Linked DNA regions of Homo sapiens: region 2 is linked to region 1. The links are contacts of gene promoters, found by promoter capture Hi-C in human tissues and cell types (Jung and others, 2019). All regions are on one chromosome and are shown on one strand. Each heading gives the region's core, a stretch centred on a gene start or on the middle of the fragment in contact. The rest is flanking DNA. Distances are from core to core; before and after follow the strand shown. Region 1 holds the start of ZNF138 (zinc finger protein 138). Region 2 overlaps ZNF736 (zinc finger protein 736).

The links. The method cuts DNA at HindIII sites, captures the fragments that hold promoters and counts their contacts. A contact is called where the count stands out against the background at its distance.
Region 2: a fragment that was not itself captured here is called in contact with the fragment with the promoter of ZNF138 in region 1 in 1 of the 25 tissues and cell types used here (lymphoblastoid cells).

What each region holds. Positions count from the first base shown.
Region 1 is chr7:64,792,170-64,799,291 of GRCh38, forward strand. ZNF138 (zinc finger protein 138) reads left to right here and starts at 2,259. Exons shown (of 4, transcript NM_001271639.2): 1 at 2,259-2,402. The coding sequence starts at 2,400. RefSeq lists enhancers at 1,985-2,034, 2,275-2,514, 2,299-2,859. The HindIII fragment of the contact is 15,546 bases long and covers 1-7,122 here.
Region 2 is chr7:64,332,613-64,339,221 of GRCh38, forward strand. ZNF736 (zinc finger protein 736) reads left to right here. Exons shown (of 4, transcript NM_001170905.3): 2 at 3,647-3,773; 3 at 4,275-4,370. Among named protein-coding and RNA genes, the nearest start is that of ZNF736, 22 kb to the left of the region's middle. The HindIII fragment of the contact is 5,723 bases long and covers 597-6,319 here.

The sequences.
Region 1 (7,122 bases), core at 1,009-3,508:
CTCTCTGAGCCTATTCTGGGCCCACAGGCTGCCTGATTTGCAAATCATTCTTTGTTCATTTAGACTCTGTTACATTCAATTTCTCTGAAGGTTTTGTTTTTTTTTTTAGATGTTTACAGATTTTATCTATGATAAAAAATAAGTAATGTGTTGCTGGGCTTTGATTTTCTCAACTCATCCCTCATCTATCTTTTTCCACATATGCTATGTCCTTTTGAAATGCTCCTGCAACTTTTTTCTTTTCTGTTTCTTTTCTTTTCTTTTTTTTTTTTTGGAGAAAGGATCACACTCTCACCACCCAGGCTGAAGTGCAGTGTCGTAACCAATCATGGCTCACTGCAGCCTCGACCTTCCAGGCTCAAGTAATCCTCTTGCCTCTGCCACCTGAGTAGCTGGGACTACAGGATTGCCTCATGCTGGCTAATTTTTATTTTTATTTATTTTTATTTTTTATTTTTTTTGAGACGGAGTCTCGCTCTGTCACCCAGGCTGGAGTGCAGTGGTGGGATCTTGGCTCACTGCAAGCCCCATCTCGTGGGTTCATGCCATTCTCCTGCCTCAGCCTCCCGAGCAGCTGGGACTGTATTTTTAGTAGAGACGGGGTTTCACCGTGTTAGCCAGGATGGTCTCGATCTCCTGACCTCGTGATCTGCCCTCCTCGGCCTCCCAAAGTGCTGGGATTACAGGCATGAGCCACCGCGCCCGGCCATGACTGGCTAATTAAAAAAAAAAAAATTTTCATGCACATAGGATCTTAACTATGTTATTCAGGCTGCACTTGAACTCCTGAGCGCAAGTGATTCTCCCATCTCAGCTTGCCAAAGTGCTAGGATTATAGATGTGAGCTACCGTGTGCTTCTTCAATTTCTTAAGATTATTTCTAGCAATAATAATAAACAGTGCTATATGGGCACAAATCTAAAAGAAATCTGGCTTCTATTTTAGAAGTGTCACTCTCCAGGATTTCAAGGGTCAAATGGAGTTAATTCTGAGTCCCAGCCCAGCCACTTAATAGCTGTGGGTCTTTGCACAAATTTTTTTTTTTTTGATGTGGAAGAGTTATATAAACCACATATGCAAAAAAAGGCAGAATGATACTGATTGCAAAAATGTTAGCAATTTTTCATCCCTCCGCTATCCATGCCCATTGCCAGGTGCATTTACAGCTGTTTCCATTGAGATCCAGTTCTGTTTTCCAAACCCTAGATCTGGCTGGCCTTATTTGCTCAGGGCAGTAAAAACCTGTGAACAGTGCAGTGTGCTAGTTTGAGGCGTAGGCTCAAATGGTTTTGCATGCTTCTGTTTTTCTTTCAGAAGGCTACTATCTCCGCGAAAAAAGCCCATGTTAGCCAGATGGAAGATAAAATAGTATGGGGAGGAGAAGCAAGTTGCCTCTGTTGACAGCCTCAGAAGCAGAAGCTCACCCCCAGAAGCACAGCTGCCTAGTCAACAAGCAGCTGATGATACATGTCTGAAGGAACTCAGCTGAGGTCACAAGAATGGTCTCACTGAGCCCAGCCTAAATGACTAACCATCTCAATTAGAGTGAATTCCACCTGTTTATTCTTAAAGTTTGACTACTAGAAAATTTGGAATTCACATGTGCTCTGTAATCCCAGCACTTTGGGAGGCCGAGGCAGGTGGATCACCTGAGGTCAGGAGTTCGAGATCAGCCTGACCAACATGGCAAAATTCTGTCTCTATTAAATATACAAAAAGTAGCCGGGCGTGGAGGCGGGTGCCTGTAATCCCAATTACTCAGGAGGCTAAGGCAGGAGAATCACTTGAGCCCGAGATGCGGAGTTTGGGGTGAGCCGAAATCGTGCCACTGTGCTTGAGCCTGGGTGAGAGTGAGACTCTGTCTCAAAAAAAAAAAAGAAAAAAATCTCAGGCTGCCTGCTCAAAGGACCAGAAGCCAGTACGGTTATAAAATCTGGAATTTAAAAATAATTGTTATATTCAGATGTGAATAGCTATATGTTATTTATAAATGCATACGACCTTATACACAAGGTTAAATGCAAATGCCCTCTGGGGTGGGCCTGACTCAGCTCAGGGAGGAAGCCCTTCTGGAAAAGGCTGCTGCTTAGGTTTAACTCTGTCTTCCTTCAGCCCAGCACCTGAGCACATCTGTCACTCAGGGCCTGAGGGGGCGGGTTGTTAAACGTTATCCAATCAGGGACGCCGGGCTGGGAACGGTCCAATCAGGCACCCAGCTGGAGCGGACATGACGTCTTCCGGGAGGCGGCGGGGTCTTTGTCTCGCTGCAGCGGGTGCTGCAGGTCTGGCCTTCACTTTTCTGCGTCCTCTTACTCCTAGAGGCCCAGCCTCTGTGGCGCTGTGATCTGGTTATTGGGAGATTCACAGCTAAGACGCCAGGATCCCCCGGAAGCCTAGAAATGGTGAGAGTGCTGGGTCCGACATCCCGAGAGAGGGGGAGGGAGCTGGTTGGAACCGGTCGGAAGTGGCTGTGGCAGTACTCGGGTCTTCCCGCAGTCGGCTGCAAAATCCGCGGCCCCGAGTTCTTGGCACAGCTCGGCCCTCAGTCCCCTTAAGCCATAGCATGGCAGCTGGGCTGACAGCCGGAACCAGGCGTCCTGTCTCCTCCCTGCGCAGTGACTGTGCCCTGGCCTGGAGCCCTCTCTGAGCAGCTCTGCACCCGCAGCGATTGTGCAGAGACGACGGGAGGGTCGTCAGGGGAGAATCCTGACTCGGGGTGCTGGGTTCATGAATGGGAAGAGGTTTCCTCCGCGGGCTTCCCTGTCCCTCTTTTCCCCTATTAAAATTTATGAAAGTCACCGCAAAAAAATTAATTTAATCAAACAGTGATTCAAGAATTGTGGAGCACCCAGCTGTGGTTTGCAGTAGTGGTCCGTGGGAGGGGTTTGAAGGAAACACTTGTATAAGGTGTATGATAAAACCAAATTCAGTAATTGGTTAGTAGAGTTATGTAGTTTCTTAATTTGTACAATGAAGGAGGAAATTTCCTGGTCATGTAATCAGAGGTTAATTGGCAGTTTACAGTTGGTTAAACATGAATTTTATTTTTCACAAGGTAGTAATTTACAAAAAAATGCATTTGAGTTAGATTTTTTTAAAACCAGAAACCCTGGGACTGGAGCGACCTCAGTCTAATTGCCTGCCACTTAATTATTTTCACACTCCACAGGGGACAGATCTTCCCCTTCATTTTTCACATGTGTCCCAAGCAGGGTCTCAAGACTCCTCCCCCTCCCCATTTCCCATTCCTTCAGCCTAACTCTGGCTTGCAGTAAAATACTAAATTTCCAGTTCCTTCTGACATTCCCAAATGCCAACTTCCCCTTCCTAATTCACATTATCAACTATTTGTCCTTTAGTGTACATTTGAAATACTGTATTTTAATTAATCATTTTTTGACAAAGCATGGATGGCATTTTAAAAAAGATTTGTTATCTGTTTGTAAATATTTCCCATGAGAAGAAACCAAAGACTCATCCCCTGATGCTGTATTGTAAAAAATCTCTGTGCCTTTTTTTTTTTTTTTAAATCTTCCCTAGGTACAGAGATCTTATCAGAATATTTTTGGGTCAAGGTTTCCCTTTGGAAACTTTATAAGGTAATGTGTCCTTAGTCACTCTTCAGTTTTTTCCTTGGTCCTGGGTTTCAGTACTTTCTGAGGATAAATCAAAATATCCACTGTGGCTGTGTATGCTAGAATCTCTGGTAAATTTCAGCTCCTGGCCTGGAATGAACTCTGGTTATCTGGGAATGGGAGACAGAGGACAACCTGAGGTTGGAGTGTAGCCTCTCAAGGGAGCAGGTGAATGCCCTGGGGCTGAGAGGAATCTCCTGGTGTACTCTTCCTTTGAAAAGCAAACCCTTTGAGAAGTTAAGATTGTCTTCAAACCAACCCAGTGTCCATTTCCGGAGACATATTGCTGGTCAATCAATCATATGCTGGTATTGAGGGGAGAACACAGAAATAATTTCGGCCCACTGGATTCTCTAAGATTTGTGAAAGAAATGATAGTATCCAAAAAGACAAATCAAACCTTACCCCAGTGAGATGGTTCAAGAACTTGCAAAGTGAAATGTACTTGGGGCAGTCACTGAGGCATAGTGCAGCGTCTTCAGAGAGGGTGGTCTTCAGAGAGGGTGGTCGTTTAGCACTTAAGTGAGCAGGATGGGGTGGGAGAATCTCTCAAGTGATTGGGTGGCTTGACTTGACATGTGAGTGAGATACATCTGTTTTTTAATCAGCACTGCCACTCCCTGGGATTGTCACCCTGAAAAGATTTGTTCACTTACTTCAGTGTTTTAATTGTAACTTGCAGTTTATTAGTAGGACTAAAAGGTAAGAGGATAATTAGAATGGGCATGAAAGAGATGGGTTTTGGAAAAAAATATCTAATCATATATTCTATTTGTTAAGTATTCTCATTTACCTTTTTCTTTCCCAGACTGAGTTTAGGAATTTTCTCAGGTCTGTTTTTTTATGGCTGGGTGATGTCCAAGAGTATTCCAAGGCTTAGCTTTTAGAATGCTACCAAGGAAAAGAATAGGGAAAATACTTCTTCCATTTTGGCTGTGGAAAACGAATACATTTCCGGCGGGGTGCGGTGGCTCATGCCTGAAATCCCAGCACTGTGGGAGGCCAAGGCAGGGAGATCACCTGAGGTCAGGAGTTCTAGACCAGCCTGGCCAACATGGTGAAACCCCATCTCTACTAAAAATACAAAAATTAGAAATTAGCCATGAATGGTGATAGGCACCTGTAATCCCAGCTATTCGGGAGGCTGAGGTGGGAGAATCATTTGAACCCCATAGGCAGAGGTTGCAGTGAGCTGAGATCGTGCGGCTGCACTCCACCTTGGGCGACAGAGCGAGACTCCATCTCAAGAAAAAAGAAAGAAAGAAAATGAATACATTTCCACAAGAAGATGTGGTAGATAATTGGTGAGTTATACAGATTCATGAAAATATCAGTTCCTCCTTTTTCAGGGTACATTTCAGTGAATACCTCTCTTCTGTATCCAGTCATCTTGATTTCTGAGGTTAATGCTAAATTTTTTAAGATGAAACTTGGTCTATCCTAGAAGTGTTCCCATATGACTAATTGTTTACTACATCATTTTTAATGGATATAATAAAATAATTATTTATCGTTTTAAAAGATTACATACTTTTGCATTTGAGATATGTGACGTAAGTGCTTTAAAATTTCCTTCCCTTATATAAACACTGTGTTTGAGTAATTTTGCTGAATTTTTCAGTTTAAAAAACCATTTGAACAACTCCGACATGGAAATTAAAGCTTGCGCCAGTGACTGCAAGCTAAGGCTAATATTGAGCCTACAAAGGGAAGGGAGGTTATTAAAGGCCCAGTTAGTTCTTTCTAGGAAGCCTCCCCTGCGGATGTCGGAGCCTGCTCACCCCAGCCATGGAAGAACCTTTATACTGAGAGAAGCTACAGAGCCCTGGAAAACTGGAGACCCACAGGCAGATGCAGTAAACATTAAGATGGAAGGGGATTGGGAGGGTCATACTCAGGATGAAGTTGTTATTGTTTTGAGGCAGTTTCTAGACTTTGTAAAATAAAACAAAATTAGGTTTATTTTTTAAAAAATTCTAAAATACTGCAACAGAAGGAAGTACCAACTATATAATCTTTAAGGATTGCAAAGTTTAGGCAGATAAAGGCTTTCTTAGGGAGGAGCAAAAAAGATTAGAAGGTGAGAGGGGAATGGCAAATGGAGGGTGTATAAATCAGATTTTATTTTTTATTTTTTAATTAAATTATTTTTTTGAGACAGAGTCTTACTTTGTTGCCCAGGCTGGAGTGCAGTGGCTGGATATCACCTCACTGCAACCTCTGCCTCCTGGGTTCAAGTGACTGTCATGCCACAGCCTCCTGAGAAGCTGGGATTACAGCCGCCCACCACCATGCCGGGCTAATTTTTGTATTTTTACTAGAAATGGGGTTTTGCCATATTGGCCAGGGTGGTCTCAAACTCCTGACCTCAGGTGATCTGCTCTTCTCAGCCTCTCAAAGTGCTGGGATTACAGGCGTGAGCCACCACGCTCAGCCCAAATCAGATTTTAGATTAGAAAATGTTTTACCCTGAAGTCAGCAAGTTTTTAGGAGAAACATAAAATGGGGTTGTATGTTGGCTCAGACTGAGTAGCTCAAAGTTCAGGAGCTGTGGGAAGGAGATAAACTTAACTATATTTTGATTAAGAAGTATTTTATTTGACCGCTGAAGAAAAATTCGGCTATTTTTTTAAATACAAAAAAGAAAATCTTATACATAGTGCTAGCTAGTTATTCCAGTACCATTTTATTAAATAGGGAATTCTGGCCGGGCATGGTGGCTTACGCCTGTAATCCCAGCTCTTTGGGAGGCCAAGGCGGGTGGATCACCTGAGGTCGGGAGTTTGAGACCAGCCTGACCAACATGGAGAAACCCTACAAAAAAAATAGTCGGACATGGTGGCCCATGCCTGTAATCCCAGCTACTCAGGAGGCTGAGACAGGAGAAACGCTTGAACCTGGAGGCGGAGGTTGTGGTGAGCCGAGATTGAGCCATTGCACTCCAGCCTGGGCAACAAGAGTGAAACTCCGACTCAAAAAAAAAAAAAAAAGGAAATTCTTCCTACATTGATCTTGTCAGCTTTTTTGATGATCAGATGGTCAGATGGTTGTAGATGTGTGGCATTATTTCTTGGCTCTATTCTGTTGCATTGTTCTATGAGCCTTTTTTTTTTTTTTTTAATCACTACCATGCTGCTTTGGTTACAGCCTTATAGAATAGTTTCAAGTTGGATAATGTAATGCCCAGCTTTGTTCTTTTTGCTTAGAATTGCCTTGGCTATTCAGGCTCTTTGTTGGTTTCATATGAATTTTAAAATAGTTTTTTTAGTTCTGTTAAGAATGTTTTTGGTAGCTTGATAAGAATGACATTAGATCTGTAAATTTCTTAGGGCAGTATGGCCATTTTAATGATATTGATCTTTTCTTTTCTTTTTTTTTTGAGATAGAGTTTTGCTCTTGTTGCCCAGGCTGGAGTGCAATGGCACGATCTCGGCTCACCGCAACCTCTGCCTCTGGATTCAAGTGATTTCTCCTGCCGCAGCCTCCT
Region 2 (6,609 bases), core at 2,208-4,707, 460 kb before region 1:
GGGCAGAGTTTTTCCCCACCCTAGTAAGCCTGAGGGTACTGCAGGAGACCAGGGTGTATCTCAGTCCTTATCTCAACCACACAAGACAGACACTCCCAGAGCTGCCGTTTATAGACCTCCCCCCAGGAGTGCATTCCTTTCCCAGGGTATTAATATTAATATTCCTTGCTAGGAAAAGAATTTAGCAATATCTCTCCTACTTGCATGCCTGTTTATAGGCTCTCTGCAAGAAGAAAAATATGGCTCTTTTTGCCCGACCCCGCAGGTACTCAGACCTTATGGTTGTCTTCCCTTGTTCCCTAAAAATCACTGTTATTCTGTTCTTCTTCAAGGTGCAATGATTTCATATTGTTTAAACACATGTTTTACAATCAGTTTGTACAGTTAACACAATTATTACAGTGGTCCTGAGGTGACATACATCCTCAGCTTACGAAGATAACAGATTAAGAGATTAAAGTAAAGACAGGCATAAGAAATTACAAAAGTATTATTTGGGAACTGATAAATGTCCAAGAAGTTTTCACAATTCATGTTCCTCTGCCGTGGCTCCAGCTGCTCCCTCCATTCAGGGTCCCTGACTTCCCGCAACACGCTACTTGTGATGTTTTGCCTTATCAGTTTAACTCCTTTTTCACTTTTTATTCTCATGATAGTCAAGGGGCTCTGAGAAATACTTTTTCCTTATATACCAGAGCCTTCTCCTTATTCCCTACGTCCCAGCTTTTAATAAGCCGTGAAAAAATTGTCACCATGAATTTATACCTGCAACATTACAAATGTTTCTTCTGTGGCTGTCGAACATGGAAGGGTGTGGAGACCCAAGATTCCTGTTTGAGATGGGATCAGGTCTTTGGTTATCAGTGAAGAAGGAGACCATGTACTGTTTAGCTTCCATTAAATCTATGCAAAACTGCTTATAAAAATGCACATTTAATGAGAATGGTCTTTATTGCCCAGGATAACTCAGAAAGTTCTGAATAAAAAATAGAAGAGACTTCCTCTCTAGGATGCTAAAGCAAGGAAGTAAAAGAGGACACAAATGGAAAAAAAAAATCCGTGCTCATGGATAGGAAGAATCAATATCATGAAAATGGCAATACTACCCAAAGTAATTTATAGATTCGATGCTATTCCCATCAGGCTACCATTGATTTTCTTCGCAGAATTAGAAAAAATACTTTAAATTTTATATGGAACCAAAAAAGAGCCCATATAGTCAACACAGTCCTAAGCAAAAAGAGCAAAGCTGGAGGCATCACGCTACCTGACTTGAAACTATACTACAAGGCTACAGTAACCAAAACAGCATGGTACTGGTACCAAAACCGGTATATAGACCAATGTAACAGAACAGAGGCCTCAGAAATAACACCACACATATACAACCATCTTATCTTTGACAAACCTGACAAAAATAAGCAATGGGGAATGGATTCCCTATTTAATAAATGGTGCTTGGAAAACTGGCTGGCCATATGCAGAAAACAGAAACTGGACCACCCTCCCTTACACCTTATACAAAAATTAACTCAAGATGGATTAAAGACTTAAATGTAAAACCTAAAACCATGAAAACTCTAGAAGAAAACCTAGGTAATACCATTTAGGACATAGGCATGGGCAAAGACTTCATGACTAAAACACCAAAGGCAATGGCAACAAAAGCCAAAATTGACAAATGGGATCTAATTAAACTAAAGAGCTTCTGCATAGCAAAAGAAACTGTCATCAGTGAACAGGCAGCCTACAGAATGGGAGAAAATTTTTGCAATATATGCATCCGACAAAGGGCAAATACCCAGAATCTACAAGGAACTTAAATAAATTTACAAGAAAAAAGCAATCCCATCAAAAAGTGGGTGAAGGATGTAAACAGACACTTCTCAAAAGAAGATATTTATGCAGCCAACAAACATAAAAAAAAGTTCATCATCACTGGTCATTAGAGGAATGCAAATCAAAACCACAATGAGATACTATCTCACACCAGTTAGAATGGCGAGCATTAAAAAGTCAGGAAACAGATACTGGCAAGGATGTGGAGAAATAGGAATGCTTTTACACTGTTGGTGGGAGTGTAAATTAGTTCAACCATTGTGGAAGACAGTGTGGTGATTCCTCAAGGATCTAGAACCAGAAATACCATTTGACCCAGCAATCTCATTACTAGGTATATGCCCAAAGGATTTTAAATCATTCTACTATAAAGACACATGCACACATATGTTTATTGCAGCACTATTTACAATAGCAAAGACTTGCAGCCAACCCAAATGCCCATCAATGATAGACTGGATAAAGAAAATGTGGCACATATACACCATGGAATACTATGCAGCCATAAAAAAGAATGAGTTCACGTCCTTTGCTGGGACATGGATGAAGCTGGAACCATCATTCTCAGCAAACTAACAAACTAACACAGGAACAGAAAACCAAACACCGCATGTTCTCACTCATAAGTAGGATTCAAACAATGAGAACACATGGACACAGGGAGGGAAACATCACACACCAGGGCCTGTCAGCAGATGGGGGCAAGGGGAAGGAGAGCAATAGGACAAATACCTAATGCATGTGGGGCTTAAAACCTAGATGACGGGTTGATAGGTGCAGCAATCCACCATGACACATGTATACCTATGTAACAAACCTGCACATGTATCCCAGAACTTAAAGTTTAAAAAAAAAAAAGTTTAGCCAAAAATTAGAGATTACAGAACATGGGAGATATTTGTAGCTTACATTTTGCCTAAAACTGATGTTTCTTCATGACTAGACTCAGATTGTTGACCCTTTTTTGTGTTAATGTTAATAATAGCACAGTAGTCTTGTATCCTTCTTTGTTAATCAGCACCTGATACAAATTTCTTTTAATATAGTTGATCTTAATTTATTTACTTGGTAAATACGCTTTCTGACAGATATTTTTCACTCTACAGTTCATTATTTTTCTCTATTAATAGATACCTTGGGGAGTTTATCAAGTGATGTGCAAAAACAAGATTTAGCCATGTTTAATCTGACAGCTCTTCTTTCTTCCTACCTTCTCTTTGCATATCGCTTGCTATGGAAAATGAAGGCTCTCGTCTTTCTTTACTGGTCAAATAAACTAAAAACCTAGGCTGTGCCACTTACTGAATTTTTGACAAAATATTCTCCTTGGGCCAGAAGCAACGATACCACTGGCAAACTTCTTACAAATTTGGAAACTCAAGCTTTACGCTAGATCTTCAGAGTCAAAATCTAGGTTTTAACAAGATCTCCTGTTCATTGCTATACACAATAAGATTTGAGAAGTATGCTTTTAACTCACCATGAAGTTTCCATATGGGAACTATAGACAGCTTTTCTTGTATTATGTAAATGTAGCATTAAGAAATGTACATGCCTGTGTTAATGTCCTTTATTTTATACTGTATCATCAAGAAAAGTATTGCACATACACTGGTTTCATGATCTTATGCCATCTTTTCTCAGAGTTAAAAATACACTAGAGAATATTTCTGTGCTAGAAAGTATCCTACTGGATAACTCCAGTAACTCATATAAGTCAGAACCAGCTATCTTTATTCTCATTTTACCTGATGTCAAATCAAGAATTCTTTCTATGGTCACTTGGTAAATATGTTTTGTTTTCCAGGGAGTGTTGACATTCAGGGATGTGGCTGTAGAATTCTCCCCAGAAGAGTGGGAATGCCTGGACTCTGCTCAGCAGCGTTTGTATAGGGATGTGATGTTAGAGAACTATGGAAACCTGGTCTCCTTGGGTGAGAATAACTTCAATATACAACTCATATTCTACATTAAATATTTTATTTTCTTCTGATTTTTTTGGAGGTTCTGCTTTGCATAAATGAGTTTCAGAATCCTGCTTCAAAAAGAAAAAATTGGGTATCTGTTGAGGTAGAAAATATAATCTTCAAGATGTTTCATCTTAACATTAATCTTTCCCTTTTTTGAGCTCATCTGTATACTTCAGTCTAAATTAGTGGTAATATCAGAAATTTAGTAGCATAAAATATTGTTACCCACACCTAAAAATGCAATTTTCACAGCTGATTTTTGATTCAGTATTACTGGGTAATAGAGCTAAGAACCACAAATTTAAAATACTTTCTAAATATTCTAAAGTTTCTGTTAGGAAACAGTATATTAAAATTAATTTTCTAGAGTCTTCTATAATGTTCTCTCTTCTCTACTGAGCATAGTACTAGATTAGTAATCAGATTATCCTAGCAAGAGTCATGTTTTTTTTTCTAATAAAACAGGTCTTGCTATCTTTAAGCCAGACTTGATGACCTGTCTGGAGCAAAGAAAAGAGCCTTGGAAAGTGAAGAGACAGGAGGCAGTAGCCAAACACCCAGGTAGGTGGGAGTGAATGAAGCAGATGACACAAATGACGGATCCCAATGTCAAGGAGGAAGCCAAACCTTTAAACATGCTTCCAGAAGCTCTGCTCCAGTGGAAATGGTTTCTGAGAAACCTTCATTTCTTTCTCTTGCTTTAACATAGGGACATTTTTTGTCCCATTCTTGTGAATTTTCCAAGCACTGTACTTCCCCTTCAGTAATGTGTGTGTGTGTGTTGTGTGTGTGTTTTGTTTTGTTTTTTGTTTTTAGTTTACAGCAATAATGAAAGTCTTTCATGGCTTGACAGAAAATGTGTGATTTGACTGCTTTTCCATTGCTTTGGGGAAACAGCAATATCTGTATTTTTGAGAAACTATATTAAACCATTTTTTTAAGTTCTGTTTTTGGATAATGTCTAAATATTTAAGTTTTGGTGATATTACAGTTTGGATCAGAAATCCCAGGAATACCACAAAAAGATGTGTGCTTCCTGCTTTATAATTTTCTATTCTATGGAACCTTCAAACGTGATTTTACAGAAATTTATACTCAGTAATTATATCAAAACACTAAGCATCTCCCTAAATGAAACAAACTCTAAAATTGTGTTACTTCAAATGTTATTCTTTTCATATAAACAAATGTTGGTAAATATGGCCAAATTCCTCAACTGTATGTATTATAGTTCATTGTATCTACTTCATACGTTTATTAAATATACTATGTCATTGGGGAGCTTAAAACATTGCTGAGTATTTTTTTTGTTTTGTTTTGTTTTGTTTTTTTTGGTTTTTTTTTTTTTTTGAGACAGAGTTTTGCTCTTGTTGCCCAAGCTGGAGTGCAATGGCACGATCTCGGCTCCCTGCAACCTCCGCCTCCCAGGTTCAAGCGATTCTTCTGCCTCAGCCTCCCTAGTAGCTGGGATTACAGGCATGTGCCACCACACCCGGCTAATTTTGTATTTTTTAGTAGAGACAGGGTTTCTCCATATTGGTCAGGCTGGTCTCGAACTCCCAACCTCAGGTGATCTGCCTGCCTTGGCCTCCCAAAATGCTAGGATTATAGGTATGAGCCACTGTGCCCAGTCTGCTGAGTACATATTAAACTCTCAATTTTAACTTTATTTTAAACGACATCGTTTTGTGGTTTTATTTAGTATGAAGCTCACTGTGATTGTGTCATTCATATGTATATATATAAACACATTTATATACGCATGTGTATGACACACATATAATCCCAGTAAGGCGAATTTTTTCACAAATAATAATTGAATACCTATGTATTGTATACAGTGTATTGATTTTGTATGTGTATACATAAAGAAATGATTAATACAATCAAATTAATGAACAAACACATTTATGACCTTACAAGTTACCTTTTTTGTAGTGAAAACAATTAAGATCTCTCAGCAAATTTTCAGCATACATAACAGTATTACTTTCAGTAGTCATAAAGCTGTACCTTAGGTTACCATAACTTGTTTGTCTTTTAACTGAAAATTTGTACCATTTGAACAACATACTCCACTTTCTCCACCTCCAGGGCCTAGCACTCACCTCTATACTCTCTTCTTCTAGGAGTCCAACCTTATTATATTCTCCATAGAAGTGAGATCATACAGTATTTGTCTGTTTCTGTGATGTTTCACTCGGCATAACATCATCTAGGTCCATCCATGTTGTAGAATGTCAGGGTTTTATTATTTTTTATGGCTGAATAATATTCTATTTTGTATACATGCCATGTTTTTTTTTTGTGCAGTCAGTTTCCACAAACACTTTAGATTGCTTTTGTATCTTGACAATTGTGAAAAATGTTTCAATGAACATGGAGGTGCAGGTATTTCTTTGAGATAGTAAATTTATTGTATATGCAGAAATGAGATAGCTGAATTGTATAGCAGTACTATTAAAAAATTTTTAAAAGAACCTACATACTAGATTTCATAATGTCTCTAAAAAATTGTACGTCACTAAAATTGTACAGCATCTTTTCTTTAATATATTGTCAACACTTGTTATAAATCTTCTTGATATTAGCAGTCCTAACAGGTATAAAGTAATATCTCACAATGAATTTAATTTGCATCTGCCAGATTGGTGACATTGAGCACCTTTCTATATACCTGTTGCCCAACTGTATGTTTTCATTTGTAAACATTTATTTAGTCCTTGGCTTATTTTTAAATTTTGTTATTACTATTATAGTTGTTGCCTTTTATTTGCATGAGTTTCTTATATATTTTTGA